4 separate regions of the Homo sapiens genome follow, and all the other regions are linked to region 3. The links are contacts of gene promoters, found by promoter capture Hi-C in blood cells and fetal thymus (Javierre and others, 2016). All regions are on one chromosome and are shown on one strand. Each heading gives the region's core, a stretch centred on a gene start or on the middle of the fragment in contact. The rest is flanking DNA. Distances are from core to core; before and after follow the strand shown. Region 1 holds the start of LOC124904004 (a long non-coding RNA gene). Region 2 holds the start of KRT34 (keratin 34). Region 3 holds the start of KRT222 (keratin 222). Region 4 has its middle 13 kb from the start of KRT32.

The links. The method cuts DNA at HindIII sites, captures the fragments that hold promoters and counts their contacts. A CHiCAGO score of 5 or more calls a contact.
Region 1: a contact is called between a fragment that was not itself captured here and the fragment with the promoter of KRT222 in region 3, in 2 of 17 cell types (total B cells and erythroblasts). The highest score is 5.4, in total B cells.
Region 2: a contact is called between the fragment with the promoter of KRT34 here and the fragment with the promoter of KRT222 in region 3, in 1 of 17 cell types (M0 macrophages). The highest score is 5.8, in M0 macrophages.
Region 4: a contact is called between a fragment that was not itself captured here and the fragment with the promoter of KRT222 in region 3, in 1 of 17 cell types (M2 macrophages). The highest score is 5.9, in M2 macrophages.

Annotation. Positions count from the first base shown.
Region 1 is chr17:41,653,489-41,657,142 of GRCh38, forward strand. It overlaps LOC124904004 (a long non-coding RNA gene), which reads right to left and starts at 1,646. Exons shown (of 2, transcript XR_007065756.1): 1 at 1-1,646. RefSeq lists enhancers at 62-760, 761-1,457. The HindIII fragment of the contact is 2,956 bases long and covers 718-3,654 here.
Region 2 is chr17:41,380,553-41,384,147 of GRCh38, forward strand. KRT34 (keratin 34) reads right to left here and starts at 1,754. Exons shown (of 7, transcript NM_001386014.1): 1 at 1,347-1,754; 2 at 1,161-1,243; 3 at 504-660. The coding sequence starts at 1,694. RefSeq lists an enhancer at 747-1,946. The HindIII fragment of the contact is 8,651 bases long and covers 1-3,595 here.
Region 3 is chr17:40,663,781-40,667,198 of GRCh38, forward strand. KRT222 (keratin 222) reads right to left here and starts at 1,397. Exons shown (of 6, transcript NM_152349.3): 1 at 1,224-1,397. The coding sequence starts at 1,319. The HindIII fragment of the contact is 3,418 bases long and covers 583-3,418 here.
Region 4 is chr17:41,452,392-41,456,065 of GRCh38, forward strand. No RefSeq gene overlaps it. Among named protein-coding and RNA genes, the nearest start is that of KRT32, 13 kb to the right of the region's middle. The HindIII fragment of the contact is 509 bases long and covers 1,996-2,504 here.

The DNA of each region.
Region 1 (3,654 bases), core at 946-3,445, 990 kb after region 3:
CAAAAAAAAATTTTAATTAAGTGAAAAACAAAAAGCGCCCAGGGACATTGGGAAAGGGAGTTCCTACCCCCACTTTCCAGGAAAGAAAACAGAGGCCCAAAGAGAGGAAGTGGATTGTGGGAAGAATTTCACTGCAGTAAGTGGTGAGGACTGACCTTGGCCAACCCCATATAGACCCCTTCCAGACCCAGGTGCCAGTGCAGACAGCCCAGCTGGGGTGTGGGGGACACAGGGCCAAGTGGCAAGGTGTCAGCAGCAGTCCCCAGAGATGGGCACCCCATGGGCACAAGTCCGCACTCACAGCCTCTACTCCAGGGCCCCATCTGGCACAGAGCTCCAAGCTGCTTAGGACAAAGGCATCCCTTAGAGGCTGGAGGCAGCAAACAGAACGTGTCCCTCTGCTGCTTCCTGGCCACTGCGGGGCCCTCACCACCACCTCAGCTCTCAGAACATCCTTCATTCTGCCCCCAGCATCTACTGAGCAATGACCAAGACCAAAGCTCCAAACCACAGACTGCCTGGGGCCTCGGCCTCCAGCTCTCCAACTGCAGAGGCAAGAGCAGAGTGTGAGGAGGGGGTGAGGAGTGGGCACCCCAATTGCCCTGGCCACTGTGGGAGCTTGGGCTCTAGCAGGCTGATCTCCCCCAGCCTGCACCCCACCCAGCAAGGACATGCAAGCCAAGCAGTTCCCACACCCCGTTCCTGGTGGCTGCCAGAAGCTTCCTTACAAGGCCCCAGCGCTGAGCTGGCTCAGCTGCAGGCGGGGGCCTGGGTGGGGCACAGCACACCTGGCTCAGCCAAGCCCAGACGCACCCTGCAAGTGAGGAATGCGGACGCCGCCCGGGCTGGCCCTGGGAAAGCTGCTGCCCTCGGCTCCTGCCCAGCCCTGACTCAGCCTAGGTGGGCCAGGGAAGCTGCAGCCTCAGCAGAACCAAGTCTCCCACCCCACCCTCCCCGCTGGCCTGCCTGGGATTGAACCAGGGGACAGGTCCTGGCAGGGGACTGAGAGTAGAGACAGCACCCCCTGGCCTCAGGACTTGGGGGAACAGCAGGGACTCTGTGGGACCTGCCCTTCTCCTGCACTGTCTGGAGGGTGCCAGCACAGCTCTGTCCGGGGGGGCTGCCCACAGCACATTTTCCCAGATGCCTGAGCCTCAGTTTCCTCATCCGTAAAAGGGGGCTAGTGACATTCCTGCCCACAGTGCAGGGCTGCAGTGGTGGAGGAGGTTCCCGGGAAGCATTTGAGAAGCAAACAGACCTCTTCCTAAGAAACAGAAGCGTCTGCCTAACCCCATGAGGCCAGGTGATCCCGTGCTCCATGCAGAAGAAACAGAAGCGTCTGCCCAGCCCCGTGAGGCCGGGTGGTCCCGTGCTCCATGCAGAGCAGGGTGACTCCATCATCCTCTGTCCCTGGCCCCAATACGGTTATTCCAAACTCCCCAGGACAAGGGCTGTGTCTCCCCCTCCGACTAGGCGGTCCCTGAAGGCTCGGGGCATGTCTCCCCTCAGACAAGAGGCTTCCCAGGGACAGAAACTCCATCCTCCTTGCTCCATCGCCCCACAGTCCCATGCCCTGCACTGCGGAAACCACAGGCCAGTGAAGGCCAGAAAAACTGCCCGTCCCCTCCTGGCGCCACCTTACCCCAGCCTCCCCAGGCCCTGACATCCACCTCCTTGCCCACCCAGCCAGCCCCCAAACGCGACGCTGGAGTGCCTCACGGTGCCCACCCAGACCCTGGGGATCAGGAGGCAGAGCCCCCCAGGTCTGGCGCTGGTAGAATCTCCCATCCCTCCCTGCCTGCAAAGAAAGGGCCCACTGGCCTCCCTCCCTGAGCCCTCCCACAGCTGGGCTGGCCAGAGAGAACTTTCTCCCTCTGCTCTCTTTCTCTGCTGTAGTTCAAGCACAGACCCTCTCACCCCAGCCAGCCCTTCTCCACCTTCCGGGCGCACAGTCTTAGGGGTGGAGCAGAGGCTGAGGTTGGGGGCCTCACAGTCAAAGGTGCTGAGACAACAGCCCCGCTGCCCTGTGCTCACTCAGAAGCTCCTGGGGAACTGGAGTGGAGGGGAAGGGTCCCCAAGCCCACAGGTTCTGGCTGCCCCTGCCACGTCCCCTCCCCCAGCCAGGCTTCTCCCAACTGCGGCAGGGCGTCTGGGCTCAGGTTGGGGTGCAGCGTTGGCAGGACAAACAGTCTCCAGTGTTGGGTGTTTGCCTCGGTTACCAAGGAGGGAGGTGAGGGGCCTGGCTCCCTGCCATGTTTGGGCCCCGGGCTGAAGGTGTGGGTGGCAGGGAAGGTGGAGGATTTGAGGTGGGGAGGCTCACTTCCCGCTCCCAGGGCTCGAGGGCAGGGCAAGCCAGCTGGGACTGCCAGATCCCTGGGCGGATTCAGACCTGCATCGGCCCTGCCTTTCTGCTGGCTCTGGGAAACTCAGTCAGGCAGGAGGAGACGCTGGGGGCGGGGCAGCCTCCCTTGCTGCTCAAAGCAGGGCTGTGGGCTGGAGGCTGGGCCCCGGCAAGTCAGGTACTGCCGTGGGTGTCCCAACCTTCCGGGACTGACGGCACCACGGCCTAACTCAGGCCGCCCGGGAGAGAGGCCTAGGAGCCCAGCTCTGGGCCCATGAATTTGGACAAGTCACCGCCCCTCTCTGGGCCCCAGTTTCCCCACCTATATAGTGTCAGGAGCTGGCCTGTGTAGTCCCACAGGGGCCTCCTTTGTTTTGTCCTCCCTGTCATGAGCTGGGCAGGTGGATGCTGAGGGGTTGAGGAGTTGGGCACTGAGCCGGGAGTTGTGACCCGGCCTTGAAGCCCTGGCTGGAAGGGCTCAGTACACATCCAGGCGGCCCTACTGCCCTGTCTGAGGCTGGCATGCAGTGAGTGCCCGGCTGAGTGCAGGAGCCCAGGGCTGTGGTCAGGAATGGCCGGGCCCTTTCTCCCTCTCTCAGCAATGATGAGAGCCACAGCCCAAGGAATCCCCTGCTGCCTCCTGCTCCCAGGTCTCCATCGCAGCCTCAGCATGACCGGCTCTGAGCAGGAAGTAGGGGAAGCAGGACAGAGGCTGGCCTGGCAGTCAGAGAGTGCACAGCCTGGCTCAGGAGGCTGGCAGGTCATCAGGGGCATAGAGCTGGCCCTCGTTGATGGGGCAGGGATGGCTTGGGGAGGGTGGAGACGCCGAGGCTTGAATTAGGGGGTGGGGGGTGCAGGTAGGGAAGAAAGGAAGAGGACTTGAGATTGTGACCAGGCAGTGCCACAAGGAACACAGGAGTGTGGGCCTTCCATGGGGAGGGAGGAAGGTGAGGCCAAAAGATGGCGGGGCAGGGGAAGGGACCACTTGCCTTGCAGCCCGGCCAGAGAGAGCGAGAATGAGCAGTTCCCACACCATGAAGACCTTTGCCCTGGCCCTGCTGGTGGCCCTGCTGTGCACAGAGAGACCCCAAGGTCTATGCTGCCACCAGTGCTTGGTGGCCCCAGCCTGGCACAGGCATGCCTGCCCCGCTGCCACATGCCCCTTCCCTGACAGGGTCTGCGTCTCGGGATATGAGAGACACAGGGAGTCTGGGTCCCTGTGGCATCTGGGAAAGTGAGAGTGGGGAACAGGCTCTGCCTCCTTTCCCTCCTGCCCCAAGAATGATACCATCATTTGGAATGTGGAGGTTCTG
Region 2 (3,595 bases), core at 504-3,003, 720 kb after region 3:
CCAAGTACTGGAATCCTCCTCTTTGCATCTGAGAAGAGTTCCCTATCTCCTCTTGGGCAGCCTGGATTATTTCTAGAGCATACTGCTTGTACATCTCATATGGTACTTGTTTCACTCTGTCTTGTTTATATCACTGTGTTTATATGACTGTCTTTCTATACTAGACTGTGAGCTCTTTTAAGAAAAGGGCCATGTCTTATTTCTTTTTTGTCCCTCCATCTCCACCACCAAATTCAGGACCTAGCAGTGATCAGCAGAGAGCAGGGCTCAATGAATGATGTCCCTCCTCAGTAATTCCAACACCTGCCTAACCCTCACCCAGCCGCTGAAGAATGAGCAGCTCACTCCACTCCTTGATATGGATGTAGCACCGTCACTCTCTGAGAACATCTTGAGTTCCTCAGAGAAGGGTCCCAGACCAGGGATCCAGACAGTAATCCTCTCCTGATTCCCAGTGCTAGTAGCTTAGTTCTGAGGCCTGCTTTTGTGAATTTGTTTCATACCTCCTCATGGTTCTTCTTCAAGCAGATCAGCTCCTCCCTCAGGGACTCCACCTGGGACTCCAGGTCAGACTTGCAGAGGGTCAGCTCATCCAGGATCCTGCGTATGCTGTTGATGTCCGACTCCACCAACAGCCTCAGGGACTGCTCCGTCTGGTACCTGCACGTGTCGGAGTGGGAGGATAAGTCAGGAAAGAAAACCACCTTCCCCTCTCATGTGTTGTTTGGGTAGAATTGGCCTGAATCTTCTTGAACTTACAGTTTTCTGCCTCTTCTCTTCCATATGCTTCAGTCAAGCTGTCCATGGATAGGCTGAAGAGGTTCCCTGACTCACCTAACACCACGAGGAGCCCACAGGCACACATGAGATGAAGTCTCTCACTGTGTTCTCGGTTTTGTTAGCTAATATACCACCAAATCAATTCCCAAAGAACAATTCATTTCAATCTCTGAATTTTGTGGTTTAAGAAACACTTCCAAAAAAAACCAGTATAGACCAAAGAGCAGGCAGCACATGAGTCTAGTTCCCTATTTGAAACTAATTTTACATAACCAGCCCTAGGAGGAGAAATAGAGAGAAATGGCTTTCTCCTCTCTTCCAGGCAATAGTAGGTCCCTAGGGCCATGAAAGAACCATAGGGACCTTGAAGTTCAACATACTTGCTTCTGAAGTCGTCAGAGGCCAGCTTGGCATTGTCAATGTTCACCACCAGCCTGGCATTCTCAGCCTTGGCACACAGAATCTGAAAAGAAATTTCTCTCATGAGGTACACTTGAACTTGAAAATGTCTTACTGTTCAAAGAGAGCCAGCTGCTGCTGGCCCCCCATATGGCCAACCCCCTCACCTTCTGCTGGAGCTCCTCAATGGTCTTGAAGTAGGACTGGTAGCTGGGGCACAGCAAGGGCTCCTGCTGCTGGGACCGCTCCTGGATGAGTTTCTCCAGCTCCGCGTTGTCCCGCTCCAGCTGACGCACCTTCTCCAGGTAGCTGGCCAGGCGGTCGTTCAGGAACTGCATAGTCTCCTTCTCGCTGCCATTGAAGGAGCCCTCACAGAACCAGTTGCAGTTGCTCACATTGGCGGGGATGTTGCAGGCCCCAGGCAGGGTGTAGCCGTGGCAGCTGGGGGGCACGCAGGGCCGGGAGGAGCAGCTGGTGCGGCAGCCCAGGCTGGGCAGGCAACAACTGTAAGACATGGTGCTGGAACAGGTAATGGAAAAGCAGGTAAGCTGCTGGAGGTGGATGTGGGCAGGTTTGAGTCTCTCCTTCCTCTGCAGTCCTTTTATACCATTAATTGTGGGTGGGGGCTTGGCATACAGCATAGTTTCCTTTCCTAATGCTTCAGCTAATTTTTCTCCAAAATATGCTAGTTAGATGCTTCTAAAGAGTCCCCCCTCAACCCATAAAATTATTCCATTCAGCTTATGTCACACCAGGCTCTTCCTGGGTGCTAGTGGTTGGTGAAATCAGAGTTTCATCAGATGGCTTCATAGGAGATAGAATCATCACAGCCCCAAAAGGCTGTCTGCATTACTCAGAGGGGAGGACAGCCAGGGACATGGGGTGGAGTTGTTTGGGAATCAGGGATTCCTCACCCAGGAGTTTCCGCCACTGTTCTTTCTCCCCAGAGAGAGAGCTCTGAGAGAGAGCTTTGAGAGTTACTCTTCCAAGTAGCTCTTTCCTCCCACATTCATCCATGTTTCAGCATTCAATTTGTTTTTATAGCAGAAACTCAACCTGTATTCGCCGAAATGATCCTGAGCCTTACTATTCGTTGGGGTTTAGGGAACTTGCCAACACATGGAGCAACTGAAAACAATGGCATGTTCATGGTTGAGAAATGAGAAAGTAAAATGGAAACCAATGGAATGGATGGGAGTATACCTAAAAGAGGGCATCTGCAAATGGCAGCCCACACGTCAAGTTTACCCTGCTGAATTTTTGTAAATAAAGTTTTTGTTTGTTTGTTTTCTGTTTTTTTTTTTTTGAGACAGAGTCTCACTCTGTCGCCCAGGCTGGAGTGCAGTGGCACGATCTCGGCTCACTGCAACCTCCACCTCCCGGGTTCAAGCAATTATCTGCCTCAGCCCCCCGAGTAGCTGGGATTACAGGTGCCCGCCACCACACCCGGCTAATTTTTGTGTTTTTAGCAGAAATGGGGTTTCACCATGTTGGCCAGGCTGCTCTTGAACTCCTGAACTCGTGATCCGCCCGCCTCGGCCTCCCAAAGTGCTGGGATTACAGGCGTGAGCCAATGCGTCCGGCAGTAAATAAAGTTTTAATGGAACACAGCCATGCCCATTTGTTTAGCTATTGTATATGGCTGCTTTTGTGCTACAGTGGCAGAGTTGTGTAGTTGTGACAGAGACTATAGTGTCCACAAAGCCCTAAAATTAAAAAATTTGCCAACTTGTACTAAAGCAACAGCCTCTCTAAAGATGAGCAAGAGTAGAAATATCTAGAAGAAAAAATATGCTGGAAACAGTCTGGAGCAGTGAGAGTTCAGATGGCAGCACTGAAGCATGAATATGAAGCATAATACTGCAGACTCACCAAGAAACGAAAATTGGAGCAAGGGTGCTCAGAGGTATCTTTGTATCCATGGTGGCTTTTTCTCAAATTCTCTGGAAATTTCTATCATCTTATTTCTAGACTTGTTCCTCTTTCTAGAGTATTAACTCTCCTAGAGGTATGACTATGCCAGCCTGAGATGCTTCCAGGACAAGCCACAGTGCCCATGAGAATGCAGATTTACTCTGTTGTCCCTACAAGTAGACACTGTCTCTGATAAGTGTGCTTCTATCACCTCTGGGATCCAGTTACCCTTTGACTCTTGCATAACCTAGGGAGCCTCTCTATTGCCCAATAATCACTCTTCACAGAATAGCCTTCCCTACCTCACTTCTTTTCCCTGTCACTCTACCTTGCCTTTGTTCCGCAGGGAAACAAAGTCATGTTTCAGAAAGAAGTCCCAAAAGATTATTTGTGGAACACAATACAAATCATTTAAAGAAGGCTGCATCTGAATTTCAAAAGCAGCATGAGAGGAGCAGAAAAGCACATCTTCGATTTTATTTATTTGAGTGTTTCCTCTTTT
Region 3 (3,418 bases), core at 147-2,646:
TGCTTTTTCATTTGAATTTACTCATTTTGGCCCTGTGACTTGTAAACTAAACTCATATTTCTACTACTGCAAAGTTAAGTGTTTTGTTTATGATTTTTAGAAGTTGTCATCTATTGATTTTTTTCTTCTGTTTGTAAAGGTGAATGAACTATCCCAATGCTTACCTGTACCAGTGACTTTGCTTAATCTAAGATGTTGATCATTCTTTATGAAGGCTGAAAATGTTATCTAGAGGTGAAATTTACAATGGAACTAAAAATGAGTGGCTAATGGAATAAAGGCCTGACATTTTTCTACCAATTTTTTTTTTTAAAATTTTGGGTGATATTCTTAAGTAAACTTTTTGCTGTATTTCAGGGTTTGGAAGATAACTTGAACCCATATATGATAGGTAAACTAAAAAATCCCCTAAATTTCTTAATCTTTGTTTCTAAAATATTTGTTTGTAAATTTGTTTAAAGACTTGAGACCTTAATTACTTGCTGAAGGTGATTGTTACTTTAAAACTAAGTCTATGAAATTAGGATTTAGTCCTTATCTAAGTAGGCTCTCTTTCTCTTTTTTAAATACTTAAATATTACAAGCTTTGTAATGGAAAGAAATGTTTCTCATCTTATAGTACAGAAGCAAAAATCTTAGTGGAGAATCGTTACCAATTTGGGGAATTTCAATGGTCATAATTTATATCATTGTTTCTGAATGCCATGTTCACACACTCAGATGATTTCTATTTATAACAATCTGGTATAAAATGGAACTCGTTAAAAAGATGATAGAAACCTTTTAGAAATATCTCTAGAAAGTGTACATGCTAATAAATCTTACTTAAAGATTTTTCATTTTAAAGATGTTATTTAAATTATCTCTGTAAATAACTCCAATAATATCTTTGAAGGGTATTTGGAATGGTTCCTTCCTGAAGATTGTAAGAGGTTAGAGTGCACCATTTTATGGTATGTTGACCCCATGTTAATGATAGGAACCTCACAATTTATATAAAAATCAAATGCATCAATCAACACTTACTTAATGGCAATTTAACAATATAATCACAGTATTTCCCCCTGTAGTCCCAGTCACACTGCAGTAGAAGCTAAATTCCTTCCCCAATAGATGCTGCATCGAAAAGGAAATACTGTACCTCAGAGAGGCCGGGACAGGAATTGGGTAGACATGGACTGTCTCCTTATTCTGGAAGGTGCCTGTCTGTATGAAATCATTACCTGGATCCTTGTTGAGAGCACCGTCTCTATCTGATTTCTGGTGAGGATCTTTTCATAGTTTGCCCTGATCTCATTGAGTAGCTGGGACAGTTCCATTCTTTTCCCATCCTCCACCTTGGCTAACTGAACCTTATCGATAGGATGAGTCGCTGCGGCAGTCTGCTCGGTCTGCGCGGAAGGCAGGGAGCCTCGCAGAGTTTTAAAGATGCAGAGCTCCTTTTTCGGAGGCCACGGAAATTCTCATCTTTCTAACTAATTATGCAAATACAGGGTAAACTCTTTGCTCCTATTGTTATTGGTATAGTAGAAATGTCAGATTCTTCATGAAGGAAAGGAAAATTTCAAAAACCTGTACTGGTTCCCTGTAAAAATTGAGCACTTTGAGGGGAGGGGGAGTTCATTTTTGTGAAAAGGAAATGGGGCATAACATAAGAAAATTGCCGGGCATGGTGGCTCATGCCTGTAATCCCAGCACTTTAGGAGGTTGAGGTGGGTGGATCACCTGAGGTCGGGAGTTCGAGATCAGCCTGGCCAACATGATGAAACCCTGTCTTTACTAAAAATACAAAAATTAGCTGGGCGTGGTGGTGGGTGCCTGTAATCCCAGCTACTCGGGAGGCTGAGGCAGGAGAATTGCTTGAACCCAGGAGGTGGAGGTTGCAGTGAGCCGAGATTGAGCCACTGCACTCCAGCCTGGGTGACAGAGTGAGACTCCATCTCCAAAAAAAAAAAAAAAAAAAAAAAAGAAAATTATATTTAGTTTTCTCAAAATGTTGCAGATAAGTGCTGGTAGACTATGAGAGTTGTGAGTTAACATTTCCAAAGTTTTAACAAGGATGAAGAAATAGACCTTTTGGTGTATTCACCAAAAGAACCCTTGAGTCCTTTGGAGGGTGTAGTCAGTGTACCATTCCATCCAATCGTTGCAATCACTTGAGCCCTTCGGAGGGTGTATTTGGCGTATCATTCCATCCAATCCTTGCAATCCCTGACATTTTCTAACCTGTAAAGATGAAAAGACTGAGGCCAGAGAGGTTGAGGCATCTTGCCCAAGGTTGCTCAGTGATGTATGACATCACTGGGACTGGCTCTTTGACAACTTGCTTGTGTTCCATGTATTACCCCTGCATATCTGCCTCTGCGTTCTCTCTCTCCCCTTCTAAATTCCTGGTTTAATCTTGCCAGCTGGTTGCTAGATGTGACAGAAATATGTCGTGAGAGTGGATCTATCATTATTGTTATTTGTGGAGTGGCTTTGGCTGAATTGTATCTGGAGCACAGTTCAGGAGATAATCAGACCTGGGTTCTAGCCCTTACAGGGCCTTTGCATGCATGTCCTGCTCTTTTAATTTCTGAATTAACTCACATCTGGCCAGGCCAGTCTATGCTGGGCATTCTCACAGCCCTCTCCAAACAAAGCTGTCCTACCCACAGCTCCTGGTGAGAGGAGAGGTTCCAGGTTATTTCTGACCCACCCCTCCCTACCTCCTGCACCTTCCCCATCAGTCACAACTTGATTATCTATAGATTGGTCAGAGACCTTTGGAGTAGGCTGAGACAGAAAGCTCTGACTAAAGAGAGTCATTAATGATTATCTAGGCCAAACTGATTCTCTTTCTTGGTAACTGGGACTGAGAAATATGAAGAGAATTAGGCTTGGGAGTGGAGGAGAGAGAAGAAAGCAATGAATTAAATTCCTAAATTAAATTCAGGGAGCAATGAATTAAATGCTTCCTGCTACTTTAGGTAGCTCCTGCTAATATCCGCCTGAAACACAGAGAGCTGAACTAGATTCCCTGGAGGGTCAGTCCTGGCAATCTGCATTTTAAATAGGTCTGCCAGCATTTCTTATGCACCCTAAATAAAGCAGCACTGTCCAGTGGAAATATAACACAAACCACAAATGCAAACCACAGATGTCCTTCCAAACTTTCTAGTAGCCATATCAAAAGATTGAAACAAAAAGAAGTGAAATTAATTTTACGACTATATTTTATTTAACTTGATATATCCAAAATGCAGCAACCCATATAAAATGTTAATGAGATCTTTTACATTATTCTTGATACTGTCTTTGAAATCCAAGTGTATTTTATACTTACATCGCATCTCAGCTTGGAACAGCCACATTTAAAGTGCTCAATAGCTGGGCACAGTGGCTCACCCCTGTAATCCCAGCACTTTGGGAGGCTGAG
Region 4 (3,674 bases), core at 1,000-3,499, 790 kb after region 3:
AGGGATAGCCCCTTGGACTGAAACCCAGCTCTGCACAGCCAAGACATGCTTCTGGTTCACTCACCCTCCCTTTTTCTCCTCATCCACTTCCTCAAAGGCACCAACACAGTGGTTAAGTGGACCTGTGTCACGCAGCTTGGCAGTTTACCAGCTCTGAGACTTTAGGCATAGCTTCTAACCCCCTGAAGCTTAAAATCTTCCCATCTGTAAAATGGAAAACGTGATTCTATCTGCTTCATCAAATCCTTGTAAGGATTAAATGCAACCAAGCATATATGTTTAGCAAAGCTTCTGACATCTAGTGAGCTCTTAATAAAGGTGCTCTATTCTTTTTAGATAAAATAGAAATAATAATATCCACCTTAGAGGATTGCTGAAATGGTTCAAAGAAAAAAGGTATGTGAAAATTCCCAGTTCAGGTTTGACATTTAGTAGAATCAAGGATGATTTCAGAAATATTATAACCACTGTTGGCAGCAATCTAAAAGGAGATGTGGAAACGGCCACAGAGACAGACTGCTACATCCCAGCTGAATATCAGCACTTAATGGAAAATACTAAATAAATGTGATTAATTTTTTAAAAATGAAGTTAGGTTGTTCATCCTTTCCACCATCTTGTACAGAACAGGAACTCCAAAACAAATAGAAAGATGAGAATGCCACAAGAGACGTTCAGATATGCGGCTGTGGGTTATTCCATGGAAGGCAAAATCCATCCCAGGGGGATTAGCTTCTAGAGAGGATTCCAGGAGGTGGGGAATATCACCTGGGTTTTGAAGCCCAACTAGAATTTGGCCATGCAAAGATGAGAAAGAAAGCACTACACATGTGAACAAACATTTTGTGAGTGACAACGCAGTTTGACAGAAGCATAGGGCAAGTGACAAAGCAGTTTGATAGAAGCACAGGATGTTTGCAGAAGATTAGAAAGAGGTAAGCTACAAAAAAAAGTGAGGCTGAGAACATGGCAGCCTTGAATGCCAGGCTAAAGAGCTGAGGCTTCATTTTGTAGGCACTGTCTGCTCCCCAGCACCCAGCGATGCAATCACTCATTGCTGGTGCTCAATAACTAGTGAGTGAATGGTGGCATGTCCTTAAATAAGGCAGGATCTGGATTGTGAAGAAATAAATCCATATCCCACTCACAGTCCTCTCATTGCAGACATCAGCAATGATGCTTGTTGAATGGAACTGGTTGTAGAACCAAGTGGTTGGGCCCTTGACATCACAGTTTATTTCTGGCACCTTCAATCCATCTTTATGAACATTCATGGACTGTCATCCCCCCAGGCAACCCCTCCAATTCTCCCATCACCAATCCTCAGCCCTCTCTTTCCATGCCACTGACACCAGAGCTCAAGGCCTCATCTTACTTTTTGTTGGAGCTCCTTAATGGTCTCAAAGTGTGAGCAGTAATTGGAGCATATGTCAGGGCACTGCCGTTTGCTCCACTGCTGGCTCTCAGCACCACCCCTGCTTCTCATTCTCCTGCTCCAACTGCTGCAACTTCTGCAAGCAGTTGGCCAGGCACTCACTTAAGAACTGCATGATCCCTTTCCCACTGCTGCTGAGGATGTCTTCACTGAACCAGCCACAGGTGCCCATACTGGCAGGGATGTTCCTGGTCCCTGGCAGAGGACAGGCAGAGTGACTGCTGGCAGGGCCAGGCTGGACTGACTGTGAGCCACAGGTTCTAAGGAGATGGCTACTAGGTTGGTGACTCTCTTACAGGTGGGCCCCAGTCTTAATACTGGGATCTACAGACATTGGGTACAGAGTTTCTAGAGTGGTTTCTGGCCACAGCCTGTCTGGAGCAAGGAGGCTTCAAATGGCTCTTGCCAAAGCTTGAGGAGCAGGGATTTCTGCTTTAACTAGAAGCCATGGTCCTAGACAGTTGAGTTGCAGATTGGTGACAAGGGCCAGGTGCTCAGGTGTGAGTGTTTCCTCACCCAGAGCTTTTATTCACCTGCCATAGGAGCAGATGTGATACACAAGCTTTCCCCCAATGAATCCTCATTTGTTCTGCCATCAGAACAACCCATCAGCAGTTATTCAGTCCTCAGAAGTAGCTCCCCACTTTATGAAAGAAAGGGCTGACTTTGGACTTCTTGTTACTGCCTTCTGTTGTGAAAAGAAATGTTAAATGTTTTCTCTTTAGAGATGCCCCATTGAAAAGTTAGACTTTGTTCCTTGAGTGACTATCTGGCCTCTCTCTAGGAATGGCATTGGCTCTAAGATGAATCGTCCTCTCCACTGACCTTCAATACCCAAAAAAGTAAAATTCTCTGATAAGAGCCTCAGGAATCCCTAAAGAGCAATAGAGCAAAGACTGCTAAGTTATTAGAACTAAAGAAAACTTCCAAGTACTAATTCAACCTTTCGTGCTTCAGAGACCAGAGAAGGACAGTGAGCTCCCCAGGGATGCCAAGCAAGTCAGATACAGAGCCAGGACTGGTCCCAGGGCCCCTAGCACATTCTGTTTCCTCTGCACCAAGATGGACAAGCTTTTTCTGTTAAAAAGACAGATGCTAAATATTTTAGGCTTTGCAAGTCGTATACTCTCTTTGTACTGCAACTACTTAGCTCTGCCATTGTAGCACAAAGCAGACATAGACAACAGGGAAATGAATGGGTGTGGCTATGCTCCAATAAAACTTGATTTACCAAAACAAGTAGCAGTGGGGTTTGACCTGTGAGCTGTAGTTGCCATCCCTGCTTCACACAGCACAGTGAATGAGGCTTAAAAATTGGACCCCTTAAGCATGTGGGAGACCTTCAGTCCGCTCTGGAGCCAGAGGGCTGGGCAGAGGGAGGGCACCTGGGAATGGATGGTGAACTCCAGGACTGGACGCTGAGCCTCAGACACCAGGGCCTTCACTCTACCAGGGCATTTACACCAAGACTGGAAGTTCATCCAATGCTCTTAGAGCAAAGCAAAGCTACCCATATGTTGTTGTTGCTGCTGCTGCTGCTGCTGTTGTTGTTTCTGAAACTTGGGCTTCAGAATGGCTCCAAAATATGACTCAGCTGCCATTGTAATTGGGGAAAGTCAGAAGAGAAGAGAAATTTGTTGCCAAAGCATGTTTTCTTTACTCAACATTCATCAGGCACCTACAATATGCCAGGCATCATGACAGGCATTTTTATATGTACTATATCCCAACAACTCTGTGAAAAAGGTAGAATTACTCCCATTTCTAAAGGGGAGAAGACTGAGATGCATAGAGATTAAGAGTTCTGCCAAAATCACACAGCACATTAGCAGCAGAACTGGGGGTCTAGCCCAGTTTTTCTGAAGCCAAAGGCACTGATCTTCTCCATTAATCCTAGATGCTCATTGGTGACTTTGTTTACATATTATGATTAAGGGACACTGCTATTTAAATACAAATTTGTCTTGATCAGTTGGGCAAAAAGATAGACATCAAATGATCTTAGGAACTTTCTGTTTAGCCGAATTGATATCATTGCATTCAAGTGTTACATTTTATGAAATACAGGCCGGGTGCAGTGGCTCACGCCTGTAATCCCAGCAGTTTGGAAGGCCAAGGTGGGTGAATCACCTGAGGTCAAGAGTTCGAGACCAGCCTGGCCAACATGGTGAAACCCCATTTCTACTAAAAATACAAAAATTAGCCAGGCATGGTGGCATGTGCCTGTGGTCCTAGCTAC